3 separate regions of the Homo sapiens genome follow, and regions 1 and 3 are each linked to region 2. Evidence: promoter capture Hi-C in human tissues and cell types (Jung and others, 2019). All regions are on one chromosome and are shown on one strand. The core of a region is centred on a gene start or on the middle of the fragment in contact, and the rest is flanking DNA. Distances in the headings are between cores, read along the strand shown.

Region 1 (3,966 bases), core at 313-2,812, 230 kb after region 2:
GGCCTGAGCCACTGCACCTGACCTGAAGTTTATGTTCTATTAAATAGCAACAGACAGTAACATAAACCAAAAATAAATAGGAAAACACCATAACAAAAATCAAACAGTGATATAATTGAGAGTTGCTTCTATTTCTTTTTGTTGTCTTCTTGGTTCAATCAGCCTGCTAAACTATATGGAACCTCATTTTCATGGGCCACTTATTTAAGCCGGGGGACCTTGGAAAGTCTCTCATGTCTCTCATCTCAACGGCCTAATGTGACTTCTCTTGAAATATTTGGACATTAGCAGGAAGCTGAGGCTTTACATCAGATCTTTACTTTAATGGTGGACTTGACTTTACTGGTAGATTTTTAGGCTCTGTGTGGACTGTGGAGATGATATCTGGGGGGCAGGCAGACACTTGCCCTGCCTCTGTCTGAGAAAATTCTGTTTTGGATGTCTTGTTGAAGTTGGTGCTGGCATCCTAAGCCCTTGCTGGGGTCGTAATTTAATTCATCAGAATGTGTGGCTTGCAAGAACCGGCTCAGATCCTGCCCTTCAAAAACAAAACATGAGCGTGCCAAGAAAGTCCAAGGTGTTGAATGTTGCCACTTCAAGCCTAAACTTTCTAGGAACACCTAAGTGGGTGGCAGCTTCCAGTTCTCCAGGCTGCTTCTAGGCCAGAGCTGGGTTCCACAAGAGACAGAATAGGCATATATATGCTTAAGGAACTGGAAAAACAGGCTCTCTCTCTCTCACAAACACACACACACACATACCAAGGTAGCTGTCAAAATGTTATCCGAAATTTTGGAACCAAAAAATCTTGAAAGATGGTATTCCAATATCACATTTTATGTAAGTTTTCTATTATATTAGATTCAAATTACGATTCGAGGCCACAAGCTTTAAGAATTCAGGGCCTTTTTAACTTGCCAAGCCCCACACCACTCCAGGAACTTCCCCACACCCCAGTTCTCAGAATTCATGTGCAAGGTCTTTCCTAAATCCAGGGTCCAGGTCAGAGAGTGGAGGATGTGCTCTATTTCTTACCTGATTGCAGACCCCTCTGACAGTGCTCCCTTCTGAAGCACTCACTGTCTGAACGTACACAGTCTCAGACTTAATCATGCACAGTGAGCAAGACTGTGGTGTGATAATTGGCGTCCCTGACTTATTAGGGCAAATCTATGGGAGGGGGAGACCTCCTGGACCACTGAGCAATTAATTCATTTACATTAGGAAGTTTCTCCGTCAGATGCAGGAAAAAAATCTTGTTTTCCTGCTGTGGTTTTGACTTTTGCCCCATCTTCTGTTGCTGTTGTAGGAGGCAAAATAAGGGTCAAGGCCTGGAAACACAAGTGCTTTGACTGAAGCTCCACTTGGCTTCCGAAGCCCAAGCTGGGTTGTACCAGGTTCCCTAGGGTGCAGGCTGTGGGCAACTGCCAGGGACATGTGCCTGCCCACCGGCCTCTGGCCCTCACTGAGTTGGCCAATGGGAAATGACAATTGTGAGGTGGGGACTGCCTGCCCCCGTGAGTACCAGGCTGTTGAGGCTGGGCCATCTCCTCCTCACTTCCATTCTGACTGCAGTCTGTGGTTCTGATTCCATACCAGAGGGTAAGAGCAATTCTGTGAAGTTCCAGGCTGGGTGGGGGATGCATGCATAGCCTCTGGCTGGGATCACCCAGGCTCTCCCGTCCGTAGTAGTGTGGGAGTGGATACAGGTGGATACTCTGGTCAGAGCAGCACTGGTGGAGGCAGATATGCACTGGGCTTCTTCCTCCGTTCTCCCACAGCCCCAAGAGAGAAAGGGTTATTTCAGACATTCCTTCTAAGATGCATGGAACCATTCTGAATTTTGCCCAGTTCGCTCTGTAGCAGGATACCTATTGAGAAAAAGTTAGGGTCAGTAAGGTGGAAGGGTCTGTCCACAGATGAAGTCCAATTCGATTAAGGGGGATAAGGGAATACATTGCCTCTTAGCTTGACCAGGTAGGGCAAAGGAAGAAGCATATATGAAGGCAGCTTCAGAAAAGTCAAGCTGAGCACTGACTTCAGACTGGAATTAGGAATCCAGCTCTGCCACTTTATTCTACTCAGCAAATATTTACTGAGCAAATTCTATGGGCTAGACAGTGGATTGGGTTCACAAGATACAATGAGTGTGACATGGTTGTTGTCTATGGATTTGGGGATATATGTAGGTATAGGGATATCTTACAAGGTAATCAAGAGGTTCTAATGAGGCCAGCCATGGTGGCTCACACCTGTAATCCCAGCAATTTGGGAGACCGAGGCGGGTGGATCACCTGAGGTCAGGAGTTCCAGACTAGCCTGACCAACATGGTGAAACCCCGCCTCTACCAAAAATACAAAAATTAGTTGGGCGTGATGGCAGGTGCCTGTAATCCCAGCTTCTCGGGAGGCTGAGGCAGGAGAATTGTCTGAACCTGGGAGGCAGAGGTTGCAGTGAGCCGAGATTGTTGCCACTGCATTCCAGCCTGGGTGACAGAGCGAGACTTTGTGTCAAAAAAAAAAAAAAAAGAAAGAAAAGAAAAAGAGGCTCTAATGAGATAAAATGAGAAAAGCCTGGCATATAGTGGCAACTTATGAAAAATTGTAATTAAAAAAAAACATTTTCTGACAGAAGAAACTGGATCTACCTGGTTTTTCTGAAGCCTAATCCTGCTCGCCCCAGTGAGTGCTGTTTCTGAGGCATCCTGGTTGTTTTGAGCTGTGGATGCTGAAGGTTAGAGTGGGAGGGATTTTAGAGGTTAGGTCTGCCCCTCTTGTGTTAGAGGACATGGATCCCTGGTCTGGAGAGGTTCTGGTTTTTGGATCAAGCCTCACAAGGGGTGGCACCAACTCACTCCTAGGAACTCCGCTAGAAGGAAGGCCAGCTCTGCCTAATTCGGTTGGGGAGATGGGGGTCCCTTTATGCTAGCAGAATATGTCCGAAGGAGCATGATGGTGTCAGCTTTGTTCATGAAGGCCAGTGGTACACAGGGAGCCCGGCAGCTTCCTCAGCAGTCCCTGCTGCCACTCTTCCTTAAGTCTTGAGGAGTCTTTTTTTGGCACAATCTCAGCTCACTGCAACCTCCGCCTCCCAGGTTCAAGCGATTCTCCTGCCTCAGTCTCCCAAGTAGCTGAGACTACAGGCATGCGCCACCACGCCCAGCTAATTTTTATATTTTTAGTAGAGATGGGGTTCACCATATTGGCCAGGATGGTCTCGATCTCTTGACCTCATATTCCACCTGCCTCGGCCTCCCAAAGTGCTGGTATTACAGGTGTGAGCCACTGCGCCTGGCCGAGGAGTCTTAAGCTGAGATCACAGCATTGCACTCCAGCCTGGGCAAAAAAAGCAAAACTCCATCTCAAAAAAAAAAAAAAAAAAATAGACACAAGACTGGCTCCTTGTCTTTTTTGGGGACAGGGTCTCACTCTATCACCCAGGCTGGAGTGCAGTGGTGCAATCACAGCTCACTGCAGCCTCGATTTCCCAGGCTCAAGTGACCCTCCCATCTTAGCCTCCTGAGTAGCTGGGACTACAGGTGTGTGCAACCATGCCTGGCTAATTTTTAAAAATTTTTTGTAGAGATGAGGTCTCACTATATTGGCTGGGGGGCCTCAAACTCCTGGGCTCAGCAGTCCTCCCACCTCAGCCTCCCAAAAGGCTGGGATTATATGCTTGCTCTTTTTAAGGTGGCTGTAGGGACAAACTTTCCACCTACTCCTTGTCAAGCCAGTGGACCGGTGGTCCCAGACATACGGCTAAAGTCAAGAGGTGATGTCTTTTGGAGAGATACTTTCAATCAGGAATTTCAATCAGAAATTCAATCATGTGGAGAGAGACTTATCCTAAAAATGTGGTGGTGCGTGGGATGCTCTGTTTTATTAGTTCCTTGACAGTATGTATGTGTGTGAGTGTGTGTGTGCGCGCGCGCACACTCATTTGGATGGGTGTGTATGTGTGGGGGG
Region 2 (4,247 bases), core at 1,258-3,757:
GTTTTTTGTTTTTTTTTTGTTTTTTTTTGTTTTTTGTTTTGAGACAGAGTCTCACTCTGTTGCCCAAGCTGGAGTGCAGTGGCACAATCTCCCCTCACTGCAACCTCTGCCTCCCAGGTTCAAGTGATTCTCCTGCCTCAGCCTCCCAAGTAGCTGAGATTACAGGCGTCCAGCACCACGCCCAGCCAATTTTTTGTATTTTTAGTAGAGATGGGGTTTCACCATGTTGGCCAGGATGCTCTCTATCTGTTGACCTCATGATCCACCTGCCTTGGCCTCCCAAAGTGCTGGGATTACAGGTGTAAGCCACCGTGCCTGGCCTGTAAACATGTTTTTAAGTCTACTTAATGACATAGGAAAATATTCAAGTTAAAGCAATAGGTGAAAAAATTTTAACAGCTGTATATGCAGTATAATCAAAATTATATTAAAATATTATTTTACATAGAAAAAAAGAAAAGATATAAATGCATCAAAACATTAACACTGTTTATCTCTGCATGATGAGATTGTGAATGATTTCTTTTTTGAGACAGAGTCTCATTCTGTTGGCTGGGCTGGAGTGCAGTGGCACTATCATAGCTCACTGCAACCATAGCCTACTCCAGGTCTTATGCTATCATCCTGCCTTCATAGTTGGGATTACAGGTGTGTGCCACCTTACCACACTTTATTCAATTTTTCTTTTTTTTGAGTCGGAGTCCCACTCCGTTGCCAGGCTGGAGTGCAGTGGCGCAATCTTGGCTCACTGCAACCTCCACCTCCTGGGTTCAAGTGATTCTCCTGTCTCGGCCTCCCGAGTAGGTGGGACTACAGGCGCGCGCCACCACGCCCAGCTAATTTTTGTATTTTTAGAAGAGACAGGGTTTCACTGTGTTGGTCAGGTTGGGCTCAATCTCTAGGCCTCGTGATCTGCCCACCTCAGCCTCCCAAAGTGCTGGAATTACAGGTGTGAACCACCGTGCCCAGCCCTTCAATATTTTTAAAGATTATATAAAGAAAAGCATAGCTTCCACACACAGTTCAGGAGTCAGGGCCCTGAGTGAAATGGAGTATAAGGTGATGGAAGATTGCCCCTGGCTTTGAGGATCATCTTGCTGGATGACCAGAGTTTGTTTTTCATCTGGAAGAATCATGGTCCCCCTCTTGGAGAGAACCTGGAGTCCTGGCCACACCTTCTGAGCTTCTGACATTAAGATTCGGTGTGGTGTGTGAGCAGCTGGGAGTAAATGTGAGAACAGTCCTGCCAACTACCTTCTCTGCCCCATCACCACTCACTTCACCTCCCTCACCCCGATTCTCACCCCAGAAAATCAATATTAAGCTTCCCTTTGGAGGGGCCCCTCTTCTTTCTTTTTTTTTTAACCAGTTTTTTTTTCTCTGAAGCAATATCAAACATTAGAACAAATTCACCCACACACAATGATGGCCTCTAAATATTTGAAGACCATGTTGGTCTCCATGAGAGGGCTTCTTTGCTTCAGACTAAACCAAACCAGGTCCTTGTGTGATATTTCCCAAGCCTCTCTTTATCCTGCCAACCCTCCTTGGATGTCACACTTGGAATTGTCAAGGGTCACTTAATAGGCAGTGCCTGGAGTCAACACTGGCCCTCTGTTCTGGCCAGAAAGACACACTGTAATTCTGCTGAGTCTGCAAAGAATGTTCAAGGGGTATTTGTGTCCGTAGCTGCTCGTGCAGCATCTCAGCCTGCGGTGTCAGACTCGAACCCAGAGCTGTGTCAAATGAGTCAGGACTCCCCTCTGCTGCCCTTGTGCACTGGCAGGGGCACTAGGTTACTAGTGCTAGGAGACTCTGGTCAGTGCCCATCTGTGCTGTCACATGCAGGGCCCTGGCAGTGAGGTCTGGAGAAGGAAGAGAAGGGGCAGGGAACCCCACACGTTTTGCTGGTCATTTCCCACCGTGGTCCTGCCACGGGAACCCCCTTCTTCCACCTCCATTCCCCACTTTAGGCAGAAACATCTCTCATCCTTTTTCTTTTCTCCAAGAATCTTCCCCCAAAATCTTGGCATCTCCTATACACATCTGTACCTTTGCTATATCTGTGGGCCTTGTTCTCCCTGTAGGACTCCTCTTGGAAAGCTAACTCCCCCTGACATTGGAGAATTTTATCAAATTGCTGAGTATCCTCCCTTCCCTCTCACAGACCCCATGGCATGCTCAGATCACAGTAGAAGACATTTCCTCTGCTGCCAAACCCATGGCACTCTGAGGCTGACTGTGTCCACCTCATTCCCTCAGCTGTCTTCTCTTTGCTGCTATTACCATGTTCCAAGCAGACTTTGGAGCATCTCCCCCACAGCAGCATGGACTTTGGCAGATTTCTTGGGGACCAGCGATGTCCTAACCTGTTTGCTTTTCCAGGGCTGATGTTTGCAGGGTGTTTTTTTTTTTCTTTTGAACCAAAGCAGAAATCATCCTGTATCCTTATGCAATTCTTCCGGCAGGCTCCAACAGATAAATAAAGCCCACCACCCTCCATGGGTCTACCTTTCCCAGCAGAGCACCTGGGTTGGTCCCGAAGCCTCCAACCACCTGCACGCCTGCCAGGGCCTCTCTGGGGCAGCCATGAAGTCCCTCGTCCTGCTCCTTTGTCTTGCTCAGCTCTGGGGCTGCCACTCAGCCCCACATGGCCCAGGGCTGATTTATAGACAACCGAACTGCGATGATCCAGAAACTGAGGAAGCAGCTCTGGTGGCTATAGACTACATCAATCAAAACCTTCCTTGGGGATACAAACACACCTTGAACCAGATTGATGAAGTAAAGGTGTGGCCTCAGGTAAGTGGACCTGCTGTCTATGAGCTGAAATAATGTGTACATGGAGCTCAATCAGGTGCCTCAAAAAATCACCATCACCCAGTGCAAATGAAACCACAGAGGAGTAAATTCTCTGATTTCTTCCCAGGAGTGAGGGAAGGGGCAGGCAGAGGGCAGGAGAGGAGACATTCTGTATGGCAGTCATGGGTGTCAGGAGGGAGCTGGGTGGGGTGTGAGGTGGTGTGCAGGAGAAAAAGTGCTTCAAATGGTAGTGTGCAGATCACAGACAGAAAGTGTAACTTGCTGGAAAAACTAGGACCCAAGAGACCAGCTCCTAGTTGCCAAGTTACCACTGGCTGAAAATCACGTATCTGTCTTTGGTTTGGTTTCTCTCTAACAAAGACTGAGAATGAATAAAACTAGCATCTGGCAGATGCCTACTATATGCCAGGCCCATTCACATAGATTATCTCATTTACTCTTTCCCGGTCCTGCCTCCTGGTGCTGTGTGGTACATATATTGTTCTTGTCTTACCCAAGAGGAGACCAAGGCTCTGTTGTGTGTGTGTGTGCAGTTTTTTTGTTTTTTGTTTTTGTCTTTTTTTTTTTGGTCCAAAATCATATAATTACTAAGTCTTCAGGCTGGGATTTGATTCCATATCTGTGTTCCTTCTTCTACACAAACTGCCTCCCAAAGAGAGTTACCCACATCCCAGAGAGAAGTCTTGGCATAAACACAATTCACCTCCTCACACACTAGACAGGAAACCAACGCAGCTTGAAGCCAGTGACAAGAAAAATCAAGCTGGAAATATGCCTCGGGGATCAGTCAAGAGATTTGGAGAGGTGGAAAGAAGCTGTCTGCCTACTGCCTGTTTTGAAATTAGATTTATTTCTGATTAAGGACAATTCTTTCAGCAAATATGTATTACAAGCCTTCCTTGGACAAGAACCAGAGATATTAGGTTGAACCATATAAAACTGCCATTTTTCTATATCAAAAGCAACCAAATATTGGCCGTTTTAATGGTTCAACCTAATACAGTGGTGAAAAAGGCACAATATGTGCCCACAAGAGCTTACAATCTAGGTTGGAAAATAAGGTCAACAACAGGAAGCCTGGACCGACTGACGACTGCCATCCGTCTCACAAAGAGACAAAATATTTGAAATCAGGATTGCTCCGGATGGATTTTAAGAGTGCTGCAGCCATATTAAAGCACAGTGGTGGTTAGGAGGAAACGCTGATCAAGTCAGGGGAAATGAACACGCAACACGCACATCTGAGGGAAAAGGTAATCATGAATGGGCATTGTGACTTTTACTAAAGGCAGAGCTTCAGAGTTGGTTCCCTTGAGAAACCCAGGTGTACCCGGTTCCTGTTCGCCAGAGCTGTGAACGCTTTCAGGCAGTCACTCTGGGCACACCTGGACATCATAAAATGCGGAGCTTCTCCCAGGGGAGGG
Region 3 (3,637 bases), core at 1,138-3,637, 180 kb after region 2:
CTTAAGATTTGGTGCAATATCTCATTAGACCTAACAGAATGAAGTTAATTTTTATAATTTCTACGTTTTGAGACTGGGTTATGAGACTGGCTAAGACTGGCCAATTTTGGTATTTTGGGTAGAGACAGTTTCACTTTCTTGAAACCCTGGTCTGGTTGGAACTCTGGGCTCTAAGTGCTAGGATCCCAAAGGGCTGGGATTACAGGCATTAGCACTGTGGCTGGCCCAGAATGAATTTTTAACTGAAGAGTTGGAAAAACTAAATGACTGTTAACTTTAACTTCTAAACATTACAGGAATGGAAGTTGGATACACTTTGTGACTTGTACGAGACACTGACCATTACACAGGCTGTTATTTTTCTCAATACGAGGCGCAAGGTGGACTGGCTGACTGAGAAGATGCATGCCAGAGACTTCACAGTTTCTGCTCTGGTAAGAGGTGTTCTAAAATGTCTGGATTTCCACTAAAGCAGGATTCAGACTACAATATAGCTGCTAAGTGCTGTGTTGTCGTTCCCCCTGCTTAAAATAAAGTTGTTTCTTAACTATACCTGTCTGCTATTCTCCTGTAGCAGCCAGGGACGCTTGGTCTCATACATGTTGATTAAAATTAAATACCGACCTGACTGGTGATTCTTGAATTAAGGTTTATTAATTTGCAGCATGGTGACATGGACCAGAAGGAGAGAGATGTTATCATGAGGGAATTCCGGTCAGGGTCAAGTCGTGTTCTGATCACTACTGACTTGTTGGTAAGTCTCTTAATGCTTTTTAAAAATCTACCAAAAGTTAGCTTTTTGGGGGGCAGGTTTTTAAGTAACCTTTGCCAACTTGGGCTATTTGGAAGAGTAAAAGACCACACTCCACAGTGGGCTATACCACTTAGTATAGTTCGCTACTATTTTGTGGCCTACATGACAGGTGTCAAGTTTTTTTGAATCAATTTTTAAAACATGCCATTGTGTTTCAGGCTCGCGGGATTGATGTGCAACAAGTGTCTTTGGTTATAAATTATGATCTACCTACCAATCGTGAAAACTATATTCACAGGTGAGAAGCCAGCATCTTGGCTGTATTGAAAAAAATTCATACGTTTTTCTACTGTGATTTGTATGAAAGGTAACATCAAATCAAGGAATAGATTCAGTAAAGTCAGTAGTGTTCAGTAAGATGATGTAATTAAATTTGTACTAGGGAAGGTTGATGAGAACAAAGTGGGAAAACTTGTAAACATTGCCCAGATTGTGGACATAGGGTTTTTTTCCACAATTGTTGGTCTTACCTTATGCTTGAGCTTTTAGTGATGTTCTTGTGTCCATGTGTTTTTCTTGGTGATTTTTTCTATAGTTGGGATTTTCTTGGTGTCGCCTGGTAGCAATTTGAGTGAACCCTGGTTTAGTTATAGTGGCTTTATCCCTAAATAAATTGAATTGTACTTTGTTATATGATGTAAAAAAAGACTTTTTAAAAAATACAGGAGTCGATAGCAGCAGTTGGTGACGAGATGGCACTCAGAAACGGCGTTGACGTAATTTAGGACGTGGAATCATAAGCGAAACAGCACACTGTTTGAATAAAGAGCGAGTCGGTATTTATATTTGTTTTTCTTTTGTCATGATTATTTGATTTTTAAGTTGCTCCAGCTAAGGCATTTTTTTGTATTAGTATTTCTATTAGGGAACCTTTCTTATTAGGTGGTTTGTATTGTCTGGTTTCTAACATGCAGGTAGCTGTTTGGCAGTTAAACACGTTTAGAGTAATTTGAGTTACAACGTGTGAAACTGAGCAAAAAAGCAGTGATAAGTTTGGGTTACCATACCAAATATTTGTTTTCCCACTGGAAAAAAGTAAGTTTTAGAAAATAGTTAACCTTTGCAGCATTTGTTTACAGTTTACAGTTCCAGAAGTGCGTCGAAATGGATTACATAACTGCTCTTTTATTCCTGGTGTTCACATCTGTCCCAGGCTGACACCTGCTCTTGGCTGGCCCACTTTGGTATGGGCTTTAATTTCACTACCCCAAACACGATACTGTCATCTGCTTTATAATAATGCTCAAGATGCCTGATAAAAATCTCATTTTGCAGCCAGACAAGCCTTGAATCCTTTTGGCACTAACTGCAAAGGAAGATTTTTTTCTCTAGATATGCATTAGCAGCTAGTGCTCCAGTTAGAAGCACGAACTATAACCTTGATAAGTAAACAGCAGCTGGTGGTTAACAAGTGGATCGTCATGTTCAGTAGTTTATACATTATGTGAGAAGTAACGTTCTGATTCTTTTTCTTACACAGAATTGGCAGAGGGGGTCGATTTGGGAGGAAAGGTGTGGCTATAAACTTTGTTACTGAAGAAGACAAGAGGATTCTTCGTGACATTGAGACTTTCTACAATACTACAGTGGAGGAGATGCCCATGAATGTGGCTGACCTTATTTAATTCCTGGGATGAGAGTTTTGGATGCAGTGCTCGCTGTTGCTGAATAGGCGATCACAACGTGCATTGTGCTTCTTTCTTTGGGAATATTTGAATCTTGTCTCAATGCTCATAACGGATCAGAAATACAGATTTTGATAGCAAAGCGACGTTAGTCGTGAGCTCTTGTGAGGAAAGTCATTGGCTTTATCCTCTTTAGAGTTAGACTGTTGGGGTGGGTATAAAAGATGGGGTCTGTAAAATCTTTCTTTCTTAGAAATTTATTTCCTAGTTCTGTAGAAATGGTTGTATTAGATGTTCTCTATCATTTAATAATATACTTGTGGACTAAAAGATATAAGTGCTGTATAAAATCAGCCAATTATGTTAAACTAGCATATCTGCCTTTATTGTGTTTGTCATTAGCCTGAGTAGAAAGGCCTTTAAAATTTTTTTAGAAAGCATTTGAATGCATTTTGTTTGGTATTGTATTTATTCAATAAAGTATTTAATTAGTGCTAAGTGTGAACTGGACCCTGTTGCTAAGCCCCAGCAAGCAATCCTAGGTAGGGTTTAATCCCCAGTAAAATTGCCATATTGCACATGTCTTAATGAAGTTTGAATGTTAAATAAATTGTATATTCACTTTAAAGGTGCTTTTGGTCATTTTATTTTTATTACAACTTCATTATTTACAAAACCCCCCATCCAGATATATTCACGTTAACAATTCTGAGATAACTGCTGCATCACAGTTGCACAAAGGCTGATGAGTTGCAAATGTTCATCAGCACCATCTGCTAGGCATTTGTCAACTTCCTACGAGAAAAATTTAAGAAATTAGCATCCTTCAGGTAGTTAAATGTTCCATTGACATGTGCAAAGTACCTACTTACGGCAAGTTTTTCTGTGATAATAGACTTCTGTTTATCAGATAAGTTATTTTCTACAACCACATCATGGAGTTGATTGACGAGCTGAGTTGCTGCATGACCCTCATCTATTAAATCCTATAATAAAAAAAACTTTTGGTATGATGACTTAATATTCCTTTCCCCAAAGTTAGTAAGCTGACTTTACCTTGACCACAGCTTCTAGTTTGTCAAAAGAGCCACTCTGACAGGCAGCAAATACTCCATCAATTTTCTCAGCTGGTATTACCTAGGTAATTGAATGTTCGGTATTAAAGATGTTTCTAGGTGAGACTAGACATACACTCTGC

The links. Contacts are between HindIII fragments. The study calls those that stand out against the background at their distance.
Region 1: the fragment with the promoter of ADIPOQ here is called in contact with the fragment with the promoter of AHSG in region 2 in 1 of the 25 tissues and cell types used here (stomach).
Region 3: a fragment that was not itself captured here is called in contact with the fragment with the promoter of AHSG in region 2 in 2 of the 25 tissues and cell types used here (aorta and hippocampus).

What each region holds. Positions count from the first base shown.
Region 1 is chr3:186,841,148-186,845,113 of GRCh38, forward strand. It overlaps ADIPOQ (adiponectin, C1Q and collagen domain containing), which reads left to right and starts at 1,563. Exons shown (of 3, transcript NM_004797.4): 1 at 1,563-1,602. RefSeq lists a promoter at 887-1,585, a cis regulatory region at 987-1,014 and an enhancer at 1,603-3,966. The HindIII fragment of the contact is 4,509 bases long and covers 1-3,684 here.
Region 2 is chr3:186,610,553-186,614,799 of GRCh38, forward strand. AHSG (alpha 2-HS glycoprotein) reads left to right here and starts at 2,508. Exons shown (of 7, transcript NM_001622.4): 1 at 2,508-2,802. The coding sequence starts at 2,590. The HindIII fragment of the contact is 10,895 bases long and covers 1-4,247 here.
Region 3 is chr3:186,786,831-186,790,467 of GRCh38, forward strand. EIF4A2 (eukaryotic translation initiation factor 4A2) reads left to right here. Exons shown (of 11, transcript NM_001967.4): 8 at 297-434; 9 at 665-754; 10 at 973-1,052; 11 at 2,295-3,067. The coding sequence ends at 2,439. It overlaps RFC4 (replication factor C subunit 4), which reads right to left. Exons shown (of 11, transcript NM_002916.5): 9 at 3,496-3,576; 10 at 3,312-3,425; 11 at 3,070-3,234. The coding sequence ends at 3,139. SNORA81 (small nucleolar RNA, H/ACA box 81) reads left to right here; the gene lies at 1-22. SNORA63 (small nucleolar RNA, H/ACA box 63) reads left to right here and starts at 469; the gene lies at 469-603. It also overlaps SNORA4. The HindIII fragment of the contact is 9,961 bases long and covers 1-3,637 here.